Linked DNA regions of Homo sapiens: regions 1 and 2 are each linked to region 3. The links are contacts of gene promoters, found by promoter capture Hi-C in human tissues and cell types (Jung and others, 2019). All regions are on one chromosome and are shown on one strand. The core of a region is centred on a gene start or on the middle of the fragment in contact, and the rest is flanking DNA. Distances in the headings are between cores, read along the strand shown. Region 1 overlaps ZNF763 (zinc finger protein 763). Region 2 overlaps ZNF700 (zinc finger protein 700). Region 3 holds the start of ZNF491 (zinc finger protein 491).

Region 1 (4,867 bases), core at 1,261-3,760, 180 kb before region 3:
AGAAAGTTCGCATTTTCGGCCGGGCGCAGTGGCTCACATCTGTAATCCCAGCATTTTGGGAGGCGTAGATGGGGGGATAACCTGAGGTCAGGAGTTGCAGACCATCCTGGCCAACATGACAAAACCCCATCTCTACTAAAAGTACAAAAATTAGCTGGGCATGGTGGCAGGTGCCTGTAATCCCAGCTACTCAGGAGGCTGAGGCAGGAGAATCACCTGAACCTGGGAGGTGGAGGTTGCAGTGAGCCGAGATCAGGCCACTGCACTCCAGCCTAGGCGACAAGAGTGAGACCCTTTCTCAGAAAAAAAAAGAAAAAACTTGCACTCATTCTCCAAGCCCACGTGTGATACAATTCTTCCAGTATACCAAGGCAAGAACCTTAGGATACAGAAAGCCCTCTGTCCTTGTGATAAGGCAGGGGTCTAATTGAGCATGGTTCATGGTAGCTTGGAATTCCTGGGCTCAAGCCATCCTCCTGCCTCAGCCTCCCAAATAGCAGGAACTACAGGCAAGTGCCACCATGCGCAGCTAACATTTTTTGTTAATGAGGTGATGTATCACCATGTTGCCTTGGCTGGTCTCACTCCTAGCCTCAAGCAATCATCTGGCTTTGGTCTCCCAAAGGGCTGGGAGTAGAGGTGTGAGCCACTGTGCCTAGCCTATGTCACATTTAAATATTATGTTTTTAGAGAAAATTTTCTAAGAGTAAATAAATGTGATGCTGGTCTTATTTCTTTTATTTGCATATTTTAAACATTTTCAGCCGGGCACAATGGCTCACGCCTGTAATTGCAGCACTTTGGGAGGCCAAGCCAGGCGGATCACCTGAGGACAGGAGTTCGAGACCAGCCCGACCAACATGGAGTAACCCCATCTCTACTAAAAATTCAAAATTAGCCAGACGTGGTGGTGGGCGCCTGTAATCCCAGCTACTTGGGAGGCTGAGGCAGGAGAATCACTTGAACCTGGGAGGCGGAGGTTGCGATGAGCCGCGATTGAGCCATTGCACTCCAGTCTGGGCAACAAGAGTGAAACTCTTGTCTCCAAAAAAACCAAAACATTTTCAGGCAGTATAAGATTTTCTAGAGAGAGAATGCTTTATCTTGTGAGGGAAACTTACCTTAGATTATTCCTGAGATTTTTGTACTGATCTTCAATGATCTGGTCTTTCCATTTTTTTCTTAAAATACAGATCCATAAAAAATAGTCCTGATTATAAAATTATGGGGTTTTTTTTGGAGATGAGGGTCTCACTCTATCACCCAGGCTGGAGTGCAATGGCATGATCACAGCTCACTGCAGCCTCAACCTCTTGGGTTCAGGTGATTCTCCTACTGCAGCCTCTCAAGTAGCTGGGATTACAGGTGCATGTCACCATCCTGGCTAAAAAGTTTGTAGAGATAGGGTTTCACCATGTTGCCCAGGCTGTTCTCAGACTCCTGGGTTCAAGTCATCCACCCACCTTGGCCTCTCAAAGTGCTAGAACCACAGGCATGAGCCACCATGCCCAGCTATTATAAAATTAGTTTAAAAATTATTAGATTCTATGTTCATGGCTCACTGCAGCCATTCCTGATTTATCAAAGTTTTCCCTGTCCATATTCCAAATCACTGAACAGCACTGAAGAGCTAGAAACACTTGTTCTTTAATAAACTGAGGGAAGTAATATTGTCACGTGATAGTTTGAATGTATGTTCCCACCCAATGTCATGAGGAACTGCAATCCCCAGTGTTGGAGGTGAGTCCTGATGGGAGTTGTTTGGGTCAGGGGGACCTATGGCTTGTTTCTCTCATGGCTTGTTGCTGTCTTTGTGATAATCAGTGAGTTCTAGTGAGCTGCACCTTCCTACACCACTCTCTCTGTCTCACTCCTGCTTTCGCCATGTGACTGCCTGCTCCCCGTTCACCTTCCGCTATGATTGAAAGCTTCCTGAGGCCTTCACCAGAAGCTGAGCAGATGCTGGTGCCATGCTTCCTTTACAGGCAGATGCCAGGCAGACGTCACTGTGAATCACTGTGCCCAGCAATGAATAATTCTTTACAAGGGGACAAACCCTGTCTGGACATGGTGACTCATGCCTGGAATCCTAGCACTTTGGGAGACTGAGCTGTGAGGACTGCTTGAGACAAAGAATTAGAGAACAGCCTGGGCAACACAGCATAATCCTGACTCTATTACTTAAAATTCTAAATAAAAGTCTGAAAAGCAGCATTTCCCACCTATTCTCTCTGAGGGAGCCTTCATCTACATAACAAGGTCTCCTTTGCTAGCCAAGCTTCTTCCTTTCCTTTAGCATAATCTGTCTTGCCATTAAAAATGACTTCCCCACCAAACCTGGAATTTTTTTGGCCATGCCAAGTCTGCATTTTTCCTGGCCTCAGAATGGTATGTAAGCTTTTTTGTCTTATTGTTGGGTGGGTCCTCATTCTGAAGGCTCCCATATATACATGTTAAATAAATTTGTATGACTTTTCTCCTATTAATTCGCCTAAGTTCCTTGATCTGAAAATTTTTTTCCTGTTTTCTCACCTTATTTTATTAAAAAAAGTTCAAAAACAAGCATATCTAAAAATGAGCATTTTCATATCCCAGAAATCAAGGTATTTTCCATAGATAACCAGAAAATGCTATTTAGTAATTGCCTAACATCAACACAGAGTGATATTAAAACCTTATTGTGTAAAGTGGAATTCTGGAAGCTTAGCTTTGAATACATTTCATTTTGTCTGTGAAACATTGAAGAGTGTGTGTGGTGTTATGATATGTATTGGTTTTCATCCAGGGTAATAATGTTGGGTGTGTTAGACCTCTGGGGAAGGCCCCTGACCTGCTGCCCTCTTTCCACTCTAATGTTTCCCCACCTTTTTGATTGTGGGTCTTAAAACCCTCCCATGAGAGGGTCCCACTGACTTCATGAAGACTTTTAGCCTTGGAAATACTCGTGATATTCCCTATCTGTAGCTGTGTGTCTGAAGTTAGCTCAGAATAAACCACAAGTGTGTAGATTGCTAAAATAACTTACTTCTAAACACTGAAACTCAAAAACTGCAGATTTCTTTGTCTAAGCAGATGCAGAAAAGCAGAAGTTATAAAGCATCCGGACTCAAACAGGCACCATCACTGCCTTCTAAAATTAGTAGCCTTCCTGGCATATGAACACCCTTTGGGCCTGTGCTCCAGTGTCTCTTTGGGTTGGTCCTTGGGCTTTTTGTGAAACATCAAGACACCTCCATAGTCTAGGCCAATGTCAGGCTCTCCAGTGTGTCCTGTTCATCACCCTCACCCTGCACTTTCATTGTCACTGTCATTGGCCATTCCAACATTGTGCTTGCATCCTGTGGAAAGTCACATTTGGGGTCAAGTGGATGGTGTTGTTTCTACTGTTTGGTTAAAAGTGTCAGGGTGTATTTGGCCTTCAAGGGAGGATAAGGCAGGGGTTGGATTCAGGTGCACCCAACTCTTGTTTTTTTCATTTTGAGACAGAGTCTTGCTCTGTCGACTAGGTTGGAGAGTGCAATGGTGTGATCTCAGTTCAGTGTAACAACCACCTCCCAGGCTCAAGCGATTCTCCTGCCTCAGCCTCCTGAGTATCTGGGATTACAGGGATTACACCACGATGCCCAGCTAATTTATCTATTTCTTAAGGTTTCACCATGTTGGCCAGGCTGGTCTTGAACTCCTGACCTCAAGTGATCCACTCTCCTTGGCCTCCCAAAGTGCTAAGATTACAGGTGTGAGCCACCGTACCTGCTCAGGTGCCCCCACCTCTGTCACTGCCCTGTCTTCCCTGCTGTGAATCATGCTGTGTGATCTGACAATCAATGATTCCACCCTTCACTGATGTGGATACATTATCTGGGACTGGGTATGTCATCTCCACACACAGACAGGGTTTGGTCAGTGATTGATGCTGCATCCCGTGATGCCTGGACTTTGACCTTAGGGAGTTTTAAATAAGCGTTTCTGAAGAGCAGCTTCATTGGAACCTTAATGAAAATGAATTTTTCCATGCCATTGCATAACATATAAAAGTGACTTTTCCATGTTGCCATTAACTTTACATGGCTGAAATAAACAGGCTGTTGACAAGTTAGTATCAACAGCACATTATCAGAGAAAGAAAAGGCTGTATTTAGACAATTTACATTATTATTGTAATTTATTAGCTTCCTGTGACTCACTAAACCAACCTGAAAAAAATAGCTTTCTAAGGTATAAATGAATTTCTATGTTTTACCCAACGTACTTTCTGGTAAACAGCACCCATACATTTTATGAAATATTTTAGTCTTTAGAGAATAAGGCAAAAACAGCTCCAGGAGTCTAGAGCTGACATCCCCTCACCACAAGGCCAAGTCTTTTTTTTTTTTTTTTTTGAGACGGAGTTTTGCTCCTGTTGCCCAGGCTAGAGTGCAATGGCACAATCTTGGCTCACTGCAACCTCTGCCCCCCAGATTCAAGCGATTCTCCTGTGCCAGCCTCCCAACTAGCTAGGATTACAGAAGCAGGCCACCACGCCTGGCCAATTTTTGTAGTTTTAGTAGAGACAGGGGTTTCATCATATTGATCAGGCCAGTCTTGAACTCCTGACCTCAGGTGATTCACCTGCTTTGGTTTCTATCCAGTGTGAGTCCTACCATGTTTTCGAAGGTGTGAGGTAGATCTGAAGGTTTTTCCACATTGCTTACACTCATAGGGTTTCTCTCCAGTGTGAGTCCTTTCATGTTATCGAAAAGAAGTGAAAGAAATAAAGGCTTTCCCACATTGCTTACACTCATAGGGTTTCTCTCCAGTGTAAGATTTTTCAGGTATTTGAAATGACTTGGCAGAATAAAAGCCTTTCCCACATATCTTACATTTATAA
Region 2 (5,069 bases), core at 1,964-4,463, 150 kb before region 3:
CAAAGAATCTTGGCAGATCTGAAGGCTTTCCCATACTGCTTACATTCATAGAGTTTCTCCCAAGTGTGAACCCTTCCATGCCGTTGAAGGTGCGAGGCACATCTGAAGGCTTTCCCACATTGCTTACATTCATAGGGTTTCACTCCAGTGTAAGTCCTTTCATGATATCAAACGGAACTAGAATACACTCATAGGGTTTCTCTCCCGTGTGAGTCCTTTCATGACATTGAAAAGAAGTAAAAGGAATGAAGGCTTTCCCACACTGCTTACATTGATAGGGTTTCTCCCCAGTGTGAGTCCTTTCATGATATCGAAAAGAACTGGAAAATGTGAAAGTTTTGCCACATTGCTTGCATTCATAGTGCTTCCTTCCAGTGTGAGTCTATTCATGTCCATAAAAGGAACCAGGCTAGCTGAATGCTTTCCCACAATCCTTACATTCATATGGCTTCTCTCCCATATGAGTCCTTGCGTGTATATGCAAGGAAGAAAAATAATTGAATGCTTTTCCGCATTCCTTACATTCATAGTGTTTCTCTCCAATGTGTGTTCTTGCATGTATTTGAAGAATCTTGGCAGATGTGAATCCATTCCCACAATGCTTACATTCATAGGGCTTCTCTCCTCTGTGCTTCCTTTCATGTATTTGAAAAGAAGAGAATTTACAGAATGCTTTTTCGCATTCCTTACATTCATAGGGTTTCTCTCCAGTGTGAGTCCTTTCATGCATCTGAAGGTTTGAGGCAGATCTGAAGGCTTTCCCACATTGCTTACACTCATAGGGTTTCTCTCCAGTGTGAGTCCTACCATGCTTTCGAAGGTTTGAGGCACAACTGAAGGCTTTCCCACATTGCTTACACTCATAGGGTTTCTCTCCAGTGTGAGTCCTTTCATGCATTCGAAGGTGTGAGGCAGATCTGAAGGCTTTCCCACATTGCTTACACTCATAGGGTTTCTCTCCAGTGTGAGTCCTTTCATGATATCGAAGGGAATTGCAACATCTGAAGGCTTTACCACATTGGTTGCATTCATAGGGTTTCTCTCCAGTGTGAGTTTTTTCATGTGTTTGAAATGACTTGGCAGAATAAAAGCCTTTCTCACATATACTACATTTATAAGGTCTTTCTCCAGAGGGCATTCTTATGTGTTTTTCTGTCCTTTCATGAATTTGAAGGTGCTTCACATATCTGAAGGCTTTCCCACATTCCTTACATTCATAGGGTTTCTCTCCAGTATGAGTCCTACCATGCACTCGAAGGTGTGAGGTAGATCTGAAGGCTTTCCCACATTCCTTACATTCATAGGGTTTCTCTCCAGTGTGAGTCCCACCGTGCACTCGAAGCTGTGAGGCAGATCTGAAGGCTTTCCCACACTGCTTACACTCATAGGGTTTCTCTCCAGTGTGAATCCTTTCATGATATCGAAAGGAACTGGAAAGATTGAAGGCTTTACCACATTGCTTGCATTTATAGCGTTTCTCTCCAGTGTGAGTTTTTTCATGTGTTTGAAATGACTTGGCAGAATAAAAGCCTTTCCCACATATCTTACATTTATAAGGTCTTTCTCCAGAGTTCATTCTTATGTGTGTTTGAAAACTTATAAGATAGGATAAGCCTTCCCCATATTGCTTACATTCATACGGTTTTTTCCCAGAGTGGGTCCTTTCATGTCTACGAAGAGAACTGGTATATGCAAATGCTTTTCCACATTCTTTGCATTGATAAGGCTTCTCTCCCATGTGACTTCTTTCATGTCTATGATAGGAACTAGAACTATGAAATGCTTTATCACATTTGCTACATTCATAGGGCTTCTCCCCAGTGTGAGTTCTTTCATGTATTTGAAGGGTAGCAGAATAAGTAAAGGATTTACCACATTGTTTACATTCATATGGTTTCTCTCCAGTGTGAGTTCTTTCATGGATAAGATATAAACTGAAAGAATGGAAGGCTTTCCCACAAAATTTACATTTATAAGTTCCATCCCCACTGTGCATTACCATGTGTCTTCGAATGCTTGAATGGAAAATAAAGGTTTTTCCACAGACTTTACAAGCATAGGGTTTCTCTCCAGTGTGATCCCTTTCTTGTGTTCTAATGGATGGGCGATACCTGAAGGCTTTCTTATTTTTAGGTTGTTGACACTTATATGGCTTTGGTCCATATTCCTGATACTCATATGCCTTGTGTCCAGTGTCACCTCTGATGCTCATATTAAAAGATGAGTTACCTATGCCAACTTCTGCACACACAAAGCTGTCACATGATTTTACTTCAGGAGAAGCTTTCTTCTCCTGGAAGTTCAGTCTGTCATCTGGAACCTGGGTAAAAGTTTCTCCACAATGACTGTCTTCTTTAATTTCATTGACTTTCTCTTCTATGAGACTCCTGTAAAACATGAGAAACACATCATGAAGGGTTTGTTTACAAGTACTTCTATATTAATCAACAAGTATTGCACTTGCATTTTTAACACTGTCCATCAAAGTGTAGGCTTTCTGCCCTGTCTGAATCGTTTGAAGGTGACTGGACATGTTCTACAAGATGACCCAGCCATACCTATTGTTTAAAAAAATATTCATAAGGGGCTTCTTAATAGTATTCCCATGTAAACTATTTTACAATTACTAAATACTGTATGTCATTTTTCTTTTGAGTCCAGTTCTTGTCCTGTTGCCCATGCTGGAGTACAGTGATATCATCATAGCTTACTGCAGCCTTTAACTCCTGAAGTCTCGAGTGATCCTCCTGCCTTCGCCTCCTGAGTAGCTGGGACTACCGATGCATACACACCACAATGCCCAGCTAATTTTTTGCTGTTGTTGATATGTGGTCTCGTTATGTTGCACAGGCTGTTCTGGAACTGATGGCCTCAAGCTATCCTCCTATCTCCACTTCTCAAAGGACTGGGATTACAGGAGTGAGCCCTCAGCCTCAGTCACGTTTAAATATATGTTTTTTGAGAAAATATTCTAAGAAGAAATGAATTTGATGCTGGATTTAGTTCTTTGTTTTACTTCTCTTCAACATATTCTCATATTCTAAGATTGTGCAGAGAGACACTGCTTTCTCTTGGAAATGCAAATTACCTGAAGCTTCTTCTGGGGTTTTGGTACTCATATTCAATGTTCTGGTCACTCCATTTTTTTCCTAAAATACAGACACAGAAAAATAGTCCTGAAGCAGTATAAAATTGTGAAAAAATTATTAGATTCTGTGCCCATGATTTACTGCAGCCATGCCTCATTTATTCATCAAGGTATTTCCTGTCTATGTTCAAAATCACTCAACAGCATTCATGAGCTAGAAACACTGGTTTGCTAATGCACTGACGGAAGGAATATTGTCATCCTTACCTATAGAGGTCAGGTTCCTGAAAGTTTCCAGCATCACTTCCCTGAAGAGATTCTTCTGGGAAATATCCAGCAATGTCCACTCTTCCTGGGTGAAGTTCACAGCCACATCCTCAAAGGCCACTGGGTCCTGAAACATCTCACATGTGTAGAGGAAGATGGGTGAGAGTGACAGCACTGGAGGCCTAGACTCTATTCCCAAGAAGTTCTCAGGATGCTGTGGACTCCAAACATTTATTCCCTGCTTCGGTTATCAGATCCCTTTCTCTCCATCTATACTTACTTTCTTCCATAAAGCAATTTATTTATTTATTTATTTTTTGAGACAGAGTTTCACTCTTGTTGCCCAGGCTGGAGTACAATGGCGTGATATTGGCTCACCACCGGGGTTCAAGCGATTCTCCTGCCTCAGCCTCCCGAGTAGCTGGGATTATAGGCATGTACCACCACGCGTGAGTGACCTTTACCCTTTCCCTCTTGTAGTGTGAGTGTTGTCTTGTCTCGAAAGAAAAATGGGTCAGACACAAAGTAAGCCCACCCCACTAGGAACTATGTTATAAAAAATTTCAAAAAGGGATTTAAGGGAGACTATGGAGTTACTATAACACCAGGAAAACTTAGAACTTTGTGTGAGACAGACTGGCCAGCATTAGAGGTGGGTTGGCCATCAGAAGGAAGCCTGGATAGGTCCCTTATTTCAAAGGTATGGCACAAGATTACCTGTAAGCCAGGGTATCCAGACAAGTTCCTGTACACAGACACTTAGTTACAGCTGGTTTTAGACCCCCCACAGTGGTTGAGAGGACAGGCAGCAGCAGTGTTAGTGGCAAAGGGACAGATAGCCAATGAGGGATCTCTCCCCACCCGCCAAGGGAAGTCAGCTCCTAAAGTTCTATCTGACCCAATGTCAGAGGACCCATGGCAGGAAATGGCACAGCAATGCCCCCCGTCCTTACCTAGAAGAGAGACTCCCCACTCCTGAGCCCACAGCACCTGTGCCTCCTCTGGACAGATACACCCCTAGACCACCCAGAACAGACAAGAGAGAATGTGAAGCTGCGGGAGAAACCCCTCCCTTGGCAGCTCATTTACGATCTAAGACTGGAAAGACAAGTGCCCCCAGTTAAAGAAGAAACAAAATGGCTCCAAGCCAGAGGTCTCAGGCAAGGATGAAAGGGCCTTGTTTAATCTGGCAGAAGGGCTACTGGACTAAGGGGGACCAGGCTCAGGTGCCCCTAACGAGCCCATGGTCAGGATGACAGTCAGGGACAAGGACATAGAGTTTCTTGTCGATACTGGTGCTGAATATTCAGTAGTAACCACCCCGGTCACCCCCTTATCCAAAAAGACTATTGATATAATCGAAGCCACACGAGTCTCGGCAAAACAAGCTTTCTGCTTGCCCTGCACTTGTACTATAGGGGTACATGAAGTAATCCACCAGTTCTTGTACATGCCCGACTTCTCCTTGCCCTTGCTGGGAAGGGACTTGCTTAGCAAGCTGAGAGCCACCATCTCTCTTACAGAGCACAGCTCTTTTACAGCTAAAGTTACCCGGAAAGGGAGTCATCATGGCCCTTACTGTCCCCCAGGAGGAGGAATGAAGACTTTTCTTAACCGAGCCAGGTCAAGAGATAAGACCAGCTCTGGCTAAGTGATGGTCAAAGGTGTGGGCAGAAGACAACCCTCCAGGGCTGGCAGTCAACCAAACCCCCGT
Region 3 (4,394 bases), core at 315-2,814:
ACCAACTTCCATCCTCTCCCTCACCTTGCCTATTAGCTGTAAATTCAATACTGTCGTTGATGCAGCCTTCACCTCCTGGGCTCAAGCAATTCTCCTGCCTCAGCCTCCAGACTAACTACAGAAGCGGCCATCATACCTGACTAATTTTTTTTTTTTTTAACAGAGTCTCGCTCTGTCGCCAGGCTGGAGTGCAGTGGCACCATCTCGGCTCACGCAACCTCCGCCTCCTGCGTTCAAGCGATTGTCTTGCCTCAGCCTCCCGAGTAGCCGGATTACAGGCACGTGCCACCACGCCCAGCTAATTTTTGTATTTTTGGTAGAGTCGGGGTTTCACCATGTTGGCCAGGATGGTCTCGAATTCCTGACCTCGTCATCCGCCCGCCTCGGCCTCCCAAAGTGCTGGGATTGTAGACGTGAGCCACCGCGCCCGGCCATACCCGACTAATTTTTTAAAATATTTTGTACAGACGGGGTCTCGCCATGTTGTCCACGCTGGCATCACCTTGCCTTACGCTGGAATGTTAAATATACTCTTTTAAATTGGAAAGGAAATGAAACCCAAATGTAAAGAAAAAAAAAAAAAAGCTCTATGGGGGCGGGGGGAGGGGGGCGGGCCAAACTCTGATTAAATTGTTGTGCCTCACAAACTAGCCTTGTATAAAAAACGTTGTAATCCTGTTAAATTTCTTGCCTATATAAGCAAGAACTTAAACTTTTAAATTTGAAACACTGAGCCCATTTCCGTGGATCCTGTGTTTTCCCAAATGGGCCATTCCCAGCTTCTTGCTTGAGTAAACTTTAAAAAACTGGAATCTGATTCTTTTATTTCAGGTTGACAAGTCCACATACGGCGACAGCATCACTGTAACTAATCAAGTATTTAATCCTGTTTGCCTCCTCATGCAACTTATAAAAGCCTTTTCTTCAATCACAAGCCATGACCGGGTGTTTCTCACTCGGAATCGCTGTTGCTCCAACAAACTCTTTAACTGTTAACAGAGCCTCAGTTTAATTTTTAGCAGAAGAAAGGCGGGACACATCCGACCCCCCATGACCCTCCCGTGGCCCCCGCACAATCTGGGAAGACGCCGGGCTGCGGGCGCGGAGCTGCCCAGAGAGGACTCCGGGGCCGGGGCCGCAGTCGCCGCGTAGGGACGGGACAGGACGCCCGGGGTCCCAGCTGCGGGCCCAGCCCCACCTGGCGGCCGAGCGGACCGAGGGCCAAGCCACGCCATGGGGGACGCGGGTCCCAATCGCCGGGGTCGCCCGAGCGGAGGCCTGGGTCCCGCCACAGCAGGATCCTGTTGGTTCCACCCAGCCCCTCTTCCACGTATCTGGACGCTAGGCCGGGCACTTTACCATTTCCCTGCTTCTTGGTGTCCCGGCGTCCTCTTTATGACTCCGGAGCAGGTCACAGCGCAGGTGACAGCGTCACAGGAGCCGTGGCGGAGGCACCTGGGGCCTCTCGGAGCAGCAAGGACTGGATGCAGAACGCAACGGACCCCAGCAACAAAGGAGTGCAGAGACTCTGAGTGCGGCCTTCTGCTTCCCCGGATTGACAGTTGGCAGGGCCCCGTCCCAGGGCCCCTGATTGGATGGGGTTCCAGGCTCCGCCCCTCAGCCCTGAGTGACAGGGTAAGCCCTGGGTAACGGAGCCCTGCAGAGCCCGGCTGATTAATCCTAGCTACAGCCTTTCTAAGGCTAAGCTCACTCCCTGCGCCCTGGTCGTTGGCTATCTGCATTTCAGCCAAACTTGCTACTTATTGTTAGAAGGGGCACTGTTAGCTTCCTCGATCTTTCAGAAATGTGTGCTGGGAATTCCAGACTCGGTGTTCAATGGAGTCATTCCTTTGCCTCATAGCAGGAAGGAAATCCAGGCCAGGCCAGGCCAGGCAAGACTGCACCAGGAGGGAGAGGCAGGTGTCCTCTACAGGGCGGGAATTGGGGATGAGACTTCCTCACACTCCCCCCGTCCCACCCCTGAATATGGAACCGCTTCCTCCCCCTAGACTTCATTTTCACCAGCAGAAGTTCTCACCTGGGGTCAGTTTAAGCTTCTAACCTAAGTAAACTATTACCTTCACAAACCCTTTCTCCAGGTGACATGTCAGACAAATCTTACTGAGCCTGATCTTCACAGATTATCTTTGTATGTACAAATTACAGTCTGTCGCCGGGACCCTTTGCACGTAAAAACCAAACACTGCCCCCGCAAAACGTCCCTAGGCTCTAGGTACAGCCCCAGTAAGGACAGAACCTCCCCCCAACCCCCCTACACAAAGTGCACCTGCACGTGAGTCTCCTGCTTTCCAGGGCTCTGTAGCTTCTCAGGATCCACATTCCTTCCGCAGCTGTTCTGAGCAGCTGGAGGCCACCTGCAGTAGAGGGCAGGCTGCCCGGGAAACACCCAGGGGAGCTCCCTTTCCCTCCCTTTGCCGGCTCCAGACTGGCCTCAGCAGGGTGTCACTGGCCTTAGGCTCTGCTGCCCCCTACAGGTTATTCACTTCATTGATCGGTTACCTGAGACAAACACCCTCAGTTCCACTGTACGTATGTATAAAGTGGGGAAGGAAAATTCTAAGATAATTGAAGTGAATTAAAAGACTTGCAGGCAGGGTGCGGGGGCTCACGCCTATAATCCCAACCCTTTTGGAGGCTGAAGCGGGAGGACTGCTTGAACCCAGGAGTTCATCATCCTGGAAAACGGAGCCACACCTCGTCTGTACTAAAAATTTAAAAATTAGCAGTGCGTGGTGTCCTGAACCTGTAGTCCCAGCTACTCGGGAGGCTGAGGTGGGAAGATCTTGAGCCCAGGAGTTTGAAGCTTCAGTGACCTATGATCTCGCCACTGTGCTTCAGCAAGAGTTGTGATAGTTGTATCAGATAAAATAGACTTTAAATAAAAAACAGTACAAAAAGACAAAGAAGATCATGAGATACTGATAACAGAATCAATTCAGCAAGATAATATAGTAATACTAAATATATATGCATCCAACATTGGAGAGGCCAAATTAATAAAGCAAATATTTCTAGACCTAAAGAAAGATATAGATAGCAATACAATAATAGTATGGGACTTCAGCACCTCACACACAGTAGTAGATATATCATCAAGACAGACAATCAACAAAAAAATTGGACTTAAGTTGGACTTTGGACCAAATGGAGCTAACAGACGTTTACAGAACCCAACAACTGCAGAATATACATTCTTCTCATCAGTACGTGAAACATTCTCCAAGGTAGACCATATGTTAGGCCACAAAACTAGTCTCGACAAATTTTAAAGTCAAAATCATTTCAAGCATCTTCTCAGACTGCTGAATAAAACTAAAAATCAATACCAAGAGGAACTTTGAAAACTGTATAAATACATGGAAATTAAACAATGTGCTCCTGAATGATCTCTGAGTCAAAGAAGAAATAAAAACAGAAAATAAAAATTTTGTTTGAAATGAACAAAAATGGCAACACAACATATCAAAACCTCTGGGATATAGGAAAAGTCATGCTAAGAGGGAAGTTTATAGAATTATATGCCTCTGTCAAAAAAGTAACAAATTAACAACCTAACATGGTACCCCATGGAACTAGGAAAACAAGAACAAAACAAATCCAAAGTTGGCAGAAAAGAAATAACAAAGATCAGAGCAGAATTAAACAAAATCAAGACTAAAAAACAACACAAATGATAAACGAAACAAAAAGTTGGTTCTTTGAAAATATCAACAAAAGTAATAAACTGCTGGCTAGACTAACCAAGAAAAAAAAGAAGATTCAAATGAACAAAACCAGAATTGAAAAAGAAGACATTACACCAATACCACAGAAATACCATCAGAGACTACTATGAACAACTATATGCTCACAACCTAGAAAACCTATAGGTTTTTTTGAAACGTATAACCTCCCAGGATTGAACCAAGAAGAAACAGATATCCTGAATAGACCAATAATAAGTAGCAATATTGAATCAGCAATAAAAAAATTCCCAAAAATGAAAGCTCTGGGCCAGACAGATTTATACCAAAATTGTACCAAATAGGCCAGATGTGGTGGCTCATGCCTGTAATCATAGCACTGTGGAGCCTGAGACAGGAGGATTGCTTGAGGCCAGGAGTTTGAGACCACCCTGGCCAACATAACAAGATCCCATCTCTAAGTAAAAAAATAAAAATTTAAAAATCAACATTAAAAAAATTATACCAAACATACAAAAAGAACTATACTAATAATCCTGAAACTGTCCCTAAAAATCACAGACAAGGGAAATCTCCCTAACTCATTCTATGAGGCCAGTAACATCCTAATACCAAAAACAGACAAGGACACAACAACAAAACTACAGACCAATATCCCCGATGAACACGGATGTGAAAATCCCCAACAAA

What was found. Contacts are between HindIII fragments. The study calls those that stand out against the background at their distance.
Region 1: a fragment that was not itself captured here is called in contact with the fragment with the promoter of ZNF491 in region 3 in 4 of the 25 tissues and cell types used here (bladder, lymphoblastoid cells, mesenchymal stem cells and 1 more).
Region 2: a fragment that was not itself captured here is called in contact with the fragment with the promoter of ZNF491 in region 3 in 8 of the 25 tissues and cell types used here (adrenal gland, aorta, bladder and 5 more).

The regions. Positions count from the first base shown.
Region 1 is chr19:11,979,894-11,984,760 of GRCh38, reverse strand. ZNF763 (zinc finger protein 763) reads right to left here. Exons shown (of 4, transcript NM_001367172.2): 4 at 4,144-4,867. It also overlaps a transcript of ZNF69 not described here. Among named protein-coding and RNA genes, the nearest start is that of ZNF433-AS1, 5.3 kb to the left of the region's middle. The HindIII fragment of the contact is 4,224 bases long and covers 399-4,622 here.
Region 2 is chr19:11,945,594-11,950,662 of GRCh38, reverse strand. It overlaps ZNF700 (zinc finger protein 700), which reads right to left. Exons shown (of 4, transcript NM_144566.3): 2 at 3,356-3,482; 3 at 3,089-3,149; 4 at 1-2,387. The coding sequence ends at 410. It also overlaps a transcript of ZNF69 not described here. Among named protein-coding and RNA genes, the nearest start is that of ZNF763, 17 kb to the left of the region's middle. RefSeq lists a silencer at 745-974. The HindIII fragment of the contact is 4,250 bases long and covers 1,089-5,069 here.
Region 3 is chr19:11,795,693-11,800,086 of GRCh38, reverse strand. It overlaps ZNF491 (zinc finger protein 491), which reads right to left and starts at 1,564. Exons shown (of 3, transcript NM_152356.4): 1 at 1,360-1,564. RefSeq lists enhancers at 1,303-1,462, 1,473-1,572, 1,798-2,309 and a silencer at 2,403-2,572. The HindIII fragment of the contact is 4,685 bases long and covers 1-4,394 here.